Regions from separate parts of the Homo sapiens genome. Here regions 2 and 3 are each linked to region 1. Evidence: promoter capture Hi-C in human tissues and cell types (Jung and others, 2019). All regions are on one chromosome and are shown on one strand. Each heading gives the region's core, a stretch centred on a gene start or on the middle of the fragment in contact. The rest is flanking DNA. Distances are from core to core; before and after follow the strand shown. Region 1 holds the start of CACNA1B (calcium voltage-gated channel subunit alpha1 B). Region 2 overlaps CACNA1B (calcium voltage-gated channel subunit alpha1 B). Region 3 overlaps EHMT1 (euchromatic histone lysine methyltransferase 1).

The links. Contacts are between HindIII fragments. The study calls those that stand out against the background at their distance.
Region 2: a fragment that was not itself captured here is called in contact with the fragment with the promoter of CACNA1B in region 1 in 2 of the 25 tissues and cell types used here (H1 embryonic stem cells and dorsolateral prefrontal cortex).
Region 3: a contact is called between a fragment that was not itself captured here and the fragment with the promoter of CACNA1B in region 1, in 1 of the 25 tissues and cell types used here (dorsolateral prefrontal cortex).

What each region holds. Positions count from the first base shown.
Region 1 is chr9:137,876,447-137,879,528 of GRCh38, forward strand. It overlaps CACNA1B (calcium voltage-gated channel subunit alpha1 B), which reads left to right and starts at 1,336. Exons shown (of 47, transcript NM_000718.4): 1 at 1,336-1,771; 2 at 2,608-2,713. The coding sequence starts at 1,488. The region is part of intron 2 of CACNA1B-AS2 (CACNA1B antisense RNA 2); the gene reads right to left. RefSeq lists an enhancer at 1,529-2,444. The HindIII fragment of the contact is 23,600 bases long and covers 1-3,082 here.
Region 2 is chr9:138,081,005-138,083,704 of GRCh38, forward strand. The region is part of intron 36 of CACNA1B (calcium voltage-gated channel subunit alpha1 B); the gene reads left to right. Among named protein-coding and RNA genes, the nearest start is that of FAM157B, 130 kb to the right of the region's middle. The HindIII fragment of the contact is 7,824 bases long and covers 1-2,700 here.
Region 3 is chr9:137,627,721-137,630,705 of GRCh38, forward strand. All of the region lies in intron 1 of EHMT1 (euchromatic histone lysine methyltransferase 1), which reads left to right. Among named protein-coding and RNA genes, the nearest start is that of EHMT1, 10 kb to the left of the region's middle. RefSeq lists an enhancer at 843-902. The HindIII fragment of the contact is 8,247 bases long and covers 1-2,985 here.

The DNA of each region.
Region 1 (3,082 bases), core at 86-2,585:
CTGTTAAAGTCAGGGCCGGCCACATGGCCCATGGCCTAACGGGGTTAAAGAGACACTTGCAGGGGGAGCCTCTGAGAAGCTTTTCCTTTGTTAGAAAAGAAAATCGTAACCTGATTCACAAAGTGGTCATCCTTTGTACACCTGCCACTTCCTTCCCGTTTGAGATGCTGGTGTAGCGGTGTGATGCCCTGTGCTATGACAGCCACCCTGGGGCATGAGGCAACAGGCAGGAAGGCAGAAAGTGTATGTGGGGATTTTGGAGGGAGGAGAGATGGTGGCTTCGTATTCAGTGAGATCACAATGGCATCGTGCAAGCTGCTGCTAGCTGGGAAGCGGGTTGTTCGCCTCTGAATGCATCCTAAGTGATTCAGCACCCCAGCCTCCTGCAGTCCACACTCCACACGGCAGCCCGAGGGACCCTTCAGAGGCCTACGCGCCTCTGCTCGGAACTGTGCGGACTGCCTCCCTCTCAGAAGGCGCAGCCCGCACCCGGCCTCACTCTGCACTCAGCGCCTTGCGAGCGAGCTTCAGGTCCGAGAGGGTCCCTTGTTCCCGAAGGTCTCCCCGACCCCGGGGCCGCCTTTTTGGAGGTTGTGAGGACCCACGGGCCTGCACGAAGTGAGCGCTGTGTAAATGGTTGCTGTGCTTTGTACAAAACGGTCAGCTCCGTGAGGGCAGAGCTGGGAGCCCAGGACAGGCCCGGCCCGCGGTGGGCGCTCAAGGAGGCCTGGGGAATGGCAGTGACCGTGACAGGTTCCCTAACGGGGCGTGGCCTGCAAGGCGGTCAGAGGCTTCTCTGAGCTGAGATCCCGGAGCCAGCCCCGTGCGTGGAAACAGCAGGTCCCGCACCCGGGCTGGGGGCCCCCGACAGAAGCGTCCGCGTGGCACCAAGGCCGCGAGCCGAGCGCACCCGGAGGGTTGGGAAGGCCGGGGACCCGGCGGGGACGGGGCGGGCCGGCCCAGGCCTGGCGCCCAGCTCTGGGCTGCAGCCCCAGGGCTGGTGGCGCCTCCGGGCGGAGCGAGGGGTCCGTCTGGGCCGAGTTTGAGGAGCCGAGGGCACCCAGGGGCGGTGCGGCCGGCAGAGTGGGCTCCGGGGACGGCCCGGGCTGGCGCTGAGCGGCCGTCGAGGACCCACAGGCTCGTCCGCTCCTGGGCCCGGCCCAGCCCCGGGGTGGGAGGCGCGGGGCGAGGGAGGCGCAGCCGGAGGGGCCGGGGCGGGGCGGGGGCGGCCGCGGGGCGGGGCCGGCGCGGCAGGGTGGGCGGGGCCGGCGCGGATTGGCCGGGCCCCGCCACGTGACCGGCCCCTTATAGGGCGTGGCGCGGGGCCGCGGAGTCGGGTGAGGCGGCGGCGGCTGCGGCGGTGGGGCCGGGCGAGGTCCGCTGCGGTCCCGGCGGCTCCGTGGCTGCTCCGCTCTGAGCGCCTGGCGCGCCCCGCGCCCTCCCTGCCGGGGCCGCTGGGCCGGGGATGCACGCGGGGCCCGGGAGCCATGGTCCGCTTCGGGGACGAGCTGGGCGGCCGCTATGGGGGCCCCGGCGGCGGAGAGCGGGCCCGGGGCGGCGGGGCCGGCGGGGCGGGGGGCCCGGGTCCCGGGGGGCTGCAGCCCGGCCAGCGGGTCCTCTACAAGCAATCGATCGCGCAGCGCGCGCGGACCATGGCGCTGTACAACCCCATCCCGGTCAAGCAGAACTGCTTCACCGTCAACCGCTCGCTCTTCGTCTTCAGCGAGGACAACGTCGTCCGCAAATACGCGAAGCGCATCACCGAGTGGCCATATCCTGCCGGGCGGGGCCGGGCGGGGCCGGGCGGGGACCGGGGTGGGGGCCGGGGCCGGGGCCATCTTCCCGGTGGCCGGGAGGGCGCGACCTGGGGAGGCGTCGGGAGACGGGCGAGGGGGGTACGGAGCGCCCCAGGGCCCCTCGGAGCGGCGGGTGCGGGAGCATTTCCGTGAGTGCGGCGGGCGCGGGGCGGAGCCCCTCTGCTCCGGACTCGTCCCTCCGCACGCCGGGTCCTGGGGATCCTGGTCGGTGCACAGTGCGCGGCTAGCCTGGAGGGCACCGAGGGCGAAGCCGCGTCCGTGCAGGTGCGAGCGCTGTGGGGACGCGGCCGTGCGCGCGCCTGGCTGCAGGTGCCTGCGTGTGCGGGCTGAGCTGGAGCCTGGCGCTGCGCGTGCGTGCGCTCGCGATGCGGGCTACATGCATGTTCACGTGCCTGTGTAGGTACATGTGGCTGCGTGTCTGGAGGGAGCAGCGTGCGCCTGCGCGGGGTCTCCCTCCAGCCTCGCCTGGGGGCGCTCGGCCCCCTCCCCTCGGGGCCCTGGAGTCGGGCGGAGCCGGGCCGGAGGCGCTGTCCGCGGTGCTGACGGCCGCCCGGGTGTGCCGAGGGGCTGGCGGCCCAGACTGCGGAGGCCCCGCCTCGCGGCCGCCCCTAGGGATGGGGGCAGGGAGTGAGGGAGACCAGGCCGCTTCCGCCAGGAGAGGGGCTCCGGACCCAGTTGTCTCAGCCCCTCCGGAGACGGCCTAGCGGTGGCTGCTGCACTGGGCTCTGCTGGCGTCGGCCTCGTGTTTCCCTCCGTGCGGCGTCTGCCGGCCAGTCCTTAACTCACGCACTCCATTCGAGTATATGATCCTGGCCACCATCATCGCCAACTGCATCGTGCTGGCCCTGGAGCAGCACCTCCCTGATGGGGACAAAACGCCCATGTCCGAGCGGCTGGTGAGTGCCCGGCTGGGCCTGAGGGCAGGGTGGTGGGGAGGCCGCGACTCCACTTTCCTTTATGGTCTGTGCCTGAGAACAGCTTCCTCGGGCAGGGTCGTCTGGGCAGTGCCCCTCGCGTCTGAAGGAAAAGGTAGGCCTGGCAGATAACACCTTCCTCGAGGGCCAGGGCAGCTGGGGTCACCGGCTTAGCCCTGGGCGTGGCCACGTTAGCCCTGGGCCAGTCTGCCCTGTGCCACGAGCTACTCCTGCACCTCAATGGCTGTCCTGGCTTTCGGCGCTAGACTTTGATCCAGAAAACCATGTTCTAAACTTGGGGTGGGGAAGGGGCATTCATGTCTTCGGGAAGGTCAGCTCTGAATGCCATGT
Region 2 (2,700 bases), core at 4-2,503, 200 kb after region 1:
AGACCCCTTGTGGGCAGCAGGGAGGGTGGGCTTTTTGGAGAATCACTTTCCTGAGGCATTGGTCTCTATACTGTTCAAAGACATCTGGTGCTGTAAGAACCAGCACACCTGTGGGCACAAAGCCAAACCTACTAGCCTGACCTTACCATGCACCTGGCCGCAGAGATGGGGTTCCACAGAAAGCCACATTCATGATACCACACCACGTACAGGGCCAGCACTCACTAGACATGTCCAGGATGAGTCGAGGAATCCTTGGGTTTAGCTATCACTCCTGTGCAGAGAAGAGGGTATTTCGTGGCCACTGTCCTTTGTTCTTGTCCCCATGGACCTCAGTCATGGTTCTTGGCTAACCCTGGTGTCTCCTTACTGAAACTGTAATCCTAATCCTTCTGGCACTTCCCTCACAGATTGGACATGCTGGGCAACTCATGCTTTGAAACACTTGGATGTGGTTTGGTCTGATAGAGAAGTGACATGGAAAAAATGGGACTGTGAATTTGGGATGGGTGGCAGGACTTCGTTAGGTTGGGATTTGGTTCCATTAATTGGAATAGAGGGTGCTGATGGAAGAATAGGGAATGAGGTTGTTCATGACAGCCTGCTGATAATCACTGAGTCAGGCACTATGCAGGGTCTTATGAATACATTAAGTATTTTAGTCTCTGTGACAGTCCTGAGATTGGTATTATTATTATTACAATGAAGAAATGGAGGTCTAGAGATGTTAAATATCTTAGCCTGAGTTTAGAACCTAAGCTTTTGAAATGGACAAATTCCTAGAAAGACACAAATTATCATAACTGACTGAATTAAGTAGAAAATATGAATAGACCTGTAACGAGTAAGAAGATTGAATCAGTAATCGAAAACTTCCCAATAAAGAGAAGCCCAAAACCATATAATGGCAAAGGGACACTCTTTGCTGGGAAAACGGGACATCCACATACAAAAGAGTGGAGTTGGACTCCTACCTTATACCATATACAAAGATTAACATAAAATTAAATAACTAAATGTAAGAGCTATAACTATAAAGCTCTTAGAAGAAAACATAGTGGGTAAATCTTTATGACGTTTTACTTAGTAACAGAGTCTTAGATTTGACACCAGAATCACAATAAAAGAAAAAATAAATTTGTCTACTCAAAATTAAAAACTTTTTAGAATCAAAGGACACTATCAACAGAATGAAAAGGCAACTCAAGGAATTGGAGAAAATATTTGTAAATTACATTTCTGATAAAGGGTTAATATCAGAATTGTTGAAAGAAAATCTTTAGCCAAATTAAATTTAACAGAGTTTAATTGAGCAAAGAATGATTCGCAAGTTGTGCAGCCTCCTGAGTCTGAGTAGGCTCAGAGACTCCAACACAGCCACATGGCAGAAGAGGATTTACGGACAGAAAAAGGAATATGATGTACAGAAAATGGAAGTGAGGTACAGAAACAGTTGATTGGTTACAGCTTAGCGTTTGCCTTATTTGAACACAGAACAGTTAGCTCCCTTTGATTGGCCAAAACTTGATGATTGGCGTGATAATAGGTTACAAAGTCTGTTTACACTTCCATTTAGGTTATAGTTCACTAGGTACAGAGAAGCCTCTAGGCTGAACTTAAAATATATAAGGAGGCAGCTTTAGGCTAAACTTGATTTAACAAAATGTATAAAGAACTTCTACAACTCAACAACAAAAATAAAACAACCCAATTAAGAAATGAGAGGTAACGTCAGCAAGATGGCTGACCTTCCACCTAGTGCTTGTCCTTCTCAAAAAGACAGAACAATGAACAAAAAATTACATTTTAATGAAAATAACTGAGGGAGAGTCTCGGAGTACATCAGAGGTGTAACAGAGACACTGGTGAGCACAGAAACTTGGGATGGCCACTTAGAGAATGGAATGAAACACCAAGCAAACACCACCACCCCATCCCACAACTAGGATCAGCTGGGACCTAGGAGAGCTTTTCCCTTTGGTGAGGAGGTAAGCAAGAGGATCCCAGCAGCCCCCATCACCATCTCGGACACCTGCAGACCCTACCACTCGGGTCCCCTGCAGTCCTCAAGGCACTAAGCCTAGCTGAGGGAGCTGCCTGGGGTCCACACACCTGTGCTCCCTCCAGAGACAAAGCCAACACTGCTCAGCCCCTGTGGCCCACGTGGCTACTGTGTTCCACTACCTAGGAGTTGGAACTAGAGCGGGAGTGTGACTTGCTCCTGGAGTAGCCGCAGCTTCCCTTTATCCTTGAGGCAAAACTGCCATCAAACTAACCAAGACTGGTGGCCGACATCCCCAAGCTGAGCTGCAAGCAGCTGTTACACCCTTCCCTGAGGGGCCACGTGGAGGTGGAGCTGCTTCACCTACCCTTCCCCTCCATGCCCATAGGCCAGAGCTGAAGTGGTACCCTGCCTCCTGGGAAAACAGTACCTTGGCCACTCAGAGCGGTCACACCTCCCCAGTGTCTTAAGTTGAAGCAGTTCCCTGCATCCCAGGAAATGGTGCGTTGGCCACCCAGAGCAGTCACATCCCCCAAGCCTGAGCTGAAGTGGCACATTGTCCCCACCCCCCACCCCTGGGAATCAGTGCCCTGGATGAACTGAGGGCTGTGCATCCCAGGGCTGAACTGACATGGTACCCTGCCATCCCAGATAAATAGAGCATTGGCTCAGCTGAGACACCCAGCCCCATAGGCCAA
Region 3 (2,985 bases), core at 208-2,707, 250 kb before region 1:
ACAGAGTCTTGGTCTTGTCGCCCAGGCTGGAGTGCAGTGGTGTGATCTCGGCTCACTGCAACCTCTGCCTCCTGGGTTCAAGCAATTCTCCTGCCTCATTACCCCCCCACCCCCAAGTAGCTGGGATTATAGTTGTGCACCACCACGTGTGGCTACTTTTTGTATTTTTAGTAGAGAGGGAGTTTCGCCATGTTGGCCAGGCTGGTCTTGAACTTCTGACCTCAAGTGATCCACCCTCCTGGGTCTCCCAAAATAATGGGATTACAGGTGTGAGCCACCATGCCCGGCCATTTTTGGTGGACCTTTTTATGGGGCTAAACGTCTGGTGTCTTGTGGCTACAGAAGACCAGTACTTGCTTGAGGAGGAGACCTGAGAGGTCAGCTGTTCTCAGGTGGAGTTTTGCCCGCATTCCCCTTTGTAGTTGCAGGCATCACCCCCATTGTCCCCACCCTTCTGTGTTTTCTGGGGTCAGTCTGCCAGCTGCTCAGCTGCAACTCCTTTATTTAAGTTTCTCCTTCCTCTACTCTGTGGGATAGGTTAGCTCTCCTCTACCTCTCTGTCTTCCTATTTGTGTTCTATTTAGGGATTTCACATGTCTTGGGGTTTATGTGTCTCTTTCCTGCTTTTCTTGTCTTTGATTGATTTTTGCTAAGAGAAGAGAGGATCAGAATCAATTTTTCTTTTTTTAAAATTACTTAAACATTTAATTTTTAATTACACAATATAATTTATAAAACATTTTGTAGAGATGGAGTCTCACTGTGTTGCCCAGGCCGATCTCCAACTGGGCTCAGGCGATTCTCCCGCTTTGGCCTCTGAAAGTGTTAGGATCACAGGCGTGAACTGCTGTGGCTGGCCTGAGAAGCATTTTCCATAAATCTTGAGAAGCAGATTCTTCCGTAAACTAGAAGCACAGCTGTCCTATGAAAAGGGCTGCCTGTCTTCGGATCTTACTATGTCAGTTGTTGGTTGTGGTCGGAAGGTTCTGGAGTCATAGTAAGGGCCAGCAAGGGTGATGTTTGTGCCTCAGCTCTAATGTCGAAAAGAGCGTCTGTGGCTACCTTAGTTGCTGGAGATCCCACACGTGGCCAGAGCCAGAGGTGGGGCTAGAGCCCTGGTTTCCTTCTTCTGCTTCCTGTCATGTGCTGAAAGAGCTGTGTAGGTTTGACCACATTTTATTGAGTTTTTCTTTGAAAATAATTTGGCTTATAAGAATCATGTTTTGGATTCTTTAGGAACTTTATTTTTTTTTTCAATCATTTCATTGGATTAAGCATGGTTGATGGATTACTTTATCCTAAGGTAAGTGGGCAGTTTGATTTTAAGTTGCTCACTCAGCAAACCAGGTAGGGAATAGTTATTTGCTTTTGTATTTTTTTTTTTTTTTTGAGATGGAGTTTCGCTCTCGTTGCCCAGGCTGGAGTGCAGTGGTGCAATCTTGGCTCACTGGAACCTCCGCCTCCCAGGTTCAAGCGATTCTCCAGCCTCAGCCTCCCGAGTAGCTGGGATTACAGGCGCCCACCACCATGCCTGGCTAATTTTGTATTTTTAGTAGAGATGGGATTTCTCTATGTTCGTCAGGCTGGTCTCAAACTCGTGACCTCAGGTGATCTGCCTGCCTCGGCCTCCCAAAGTGTTGGGATTACCGGCGTGAGCCACCACACCTGGCCAGTTTTTTTGTTGTTGTTGTTAAATGGAGTCTCGCTCTGTTGCCCAGGCTGGAGTGCAGTGGCGTGATCTCGGCTCACTGCAAGCTCCGCCTCCTGGGTTCTCGCCATTCTTCTGCCTCAGTCTCCCAAGTAGCTGGGACTACAGGCGCCCACCACCATGCCTAGCTAATTTTTTGTATTTTTAGTAGAGACAGGGTTTCACTGTGTTAGCCAGGATGGTCTCGCTCTCCTGACCTCGTGATCTGCCCGCCTCTGCCTCCCAAAGTGCTGAGGTTACAGGCATGAGCCATCGCACCTGGTCCAGTTTTTTGTATTTTTAGTAGAAACGGGGTTTCACCATGTTAGCCAGGCTGGTCTCGAACTCCTGACCTCAGGTGATCCGCCCACCTCGGCCTCCCAAAGTGCTGGGATTATAGGCATGAGCCACCGCACCCGGCTGAGAATAGTTATTAGAGCCCAGTTAATTTGGCCTATGGCAGGTATGATATAGAAAGCATTACTTCCAGGACTGAGAATTCTCCTTTCTTACTGTTTTGCTTCTCTTTAACTTTTAATATTTTCATGTATTAAAAAAAAATCTGATGATTTTGGATTTTGAAAAACAAAGCTAAAGTGGCTGCTATAACTCTTCAGAGGTAGCATTTCCTTTGAAATGGAGTCTCTTGGATAAGAGGCCACTTTCCCAGGAACATCACTGTGAGCTGCTGTTTCATTCTGGAAAAGCTTGTGGATTTCTTTCTGTATTCTAGTTGTAATAGGCTGGTTCTGATCACAGTATATTTAAGATGCTGTTTTGAGCACTTTCTGTTTATGCAGTGCAATTCTAGGTATTTGTAAGAGGACATACAAAGTTTTGAGATTGATCCCTGATGTTACAAAATTTAATAATAGAACAGAGCAAATATTACTGAGTAGGAAATGAGAGTCAGTTAAAAGTAAACAAGAAGAGGCTGCTGGATGGCCACAATTGCTGCGGCCACATGTGTGGGGAAAAGTTCCTTGAGGAAGATGAGTTAGTCTAGGTCTTTTTTTTCCTTTAACAGCTTCTTGTCCAACACATAGTCTAGGTCTTAAAGGATGTGAGACATGAATTGGCATGAGAAGGTGGACAAAGTGTACATTAACAAAAATTAGGCATTTTAGCAAATTTAGAAATCAAACCTAGAAACCTCAGGATGCCATATATTTGTCATCTGTTTTTTTCCTGATCCTCGTGAGTGTATGTGTTTTTATTTAAAATTGGTGGTAATCAGTGATTATGTGCCGTTGTACTTCCTCTGTCCCGTATTGTCTGACGTGCATTCGTATCTTCAG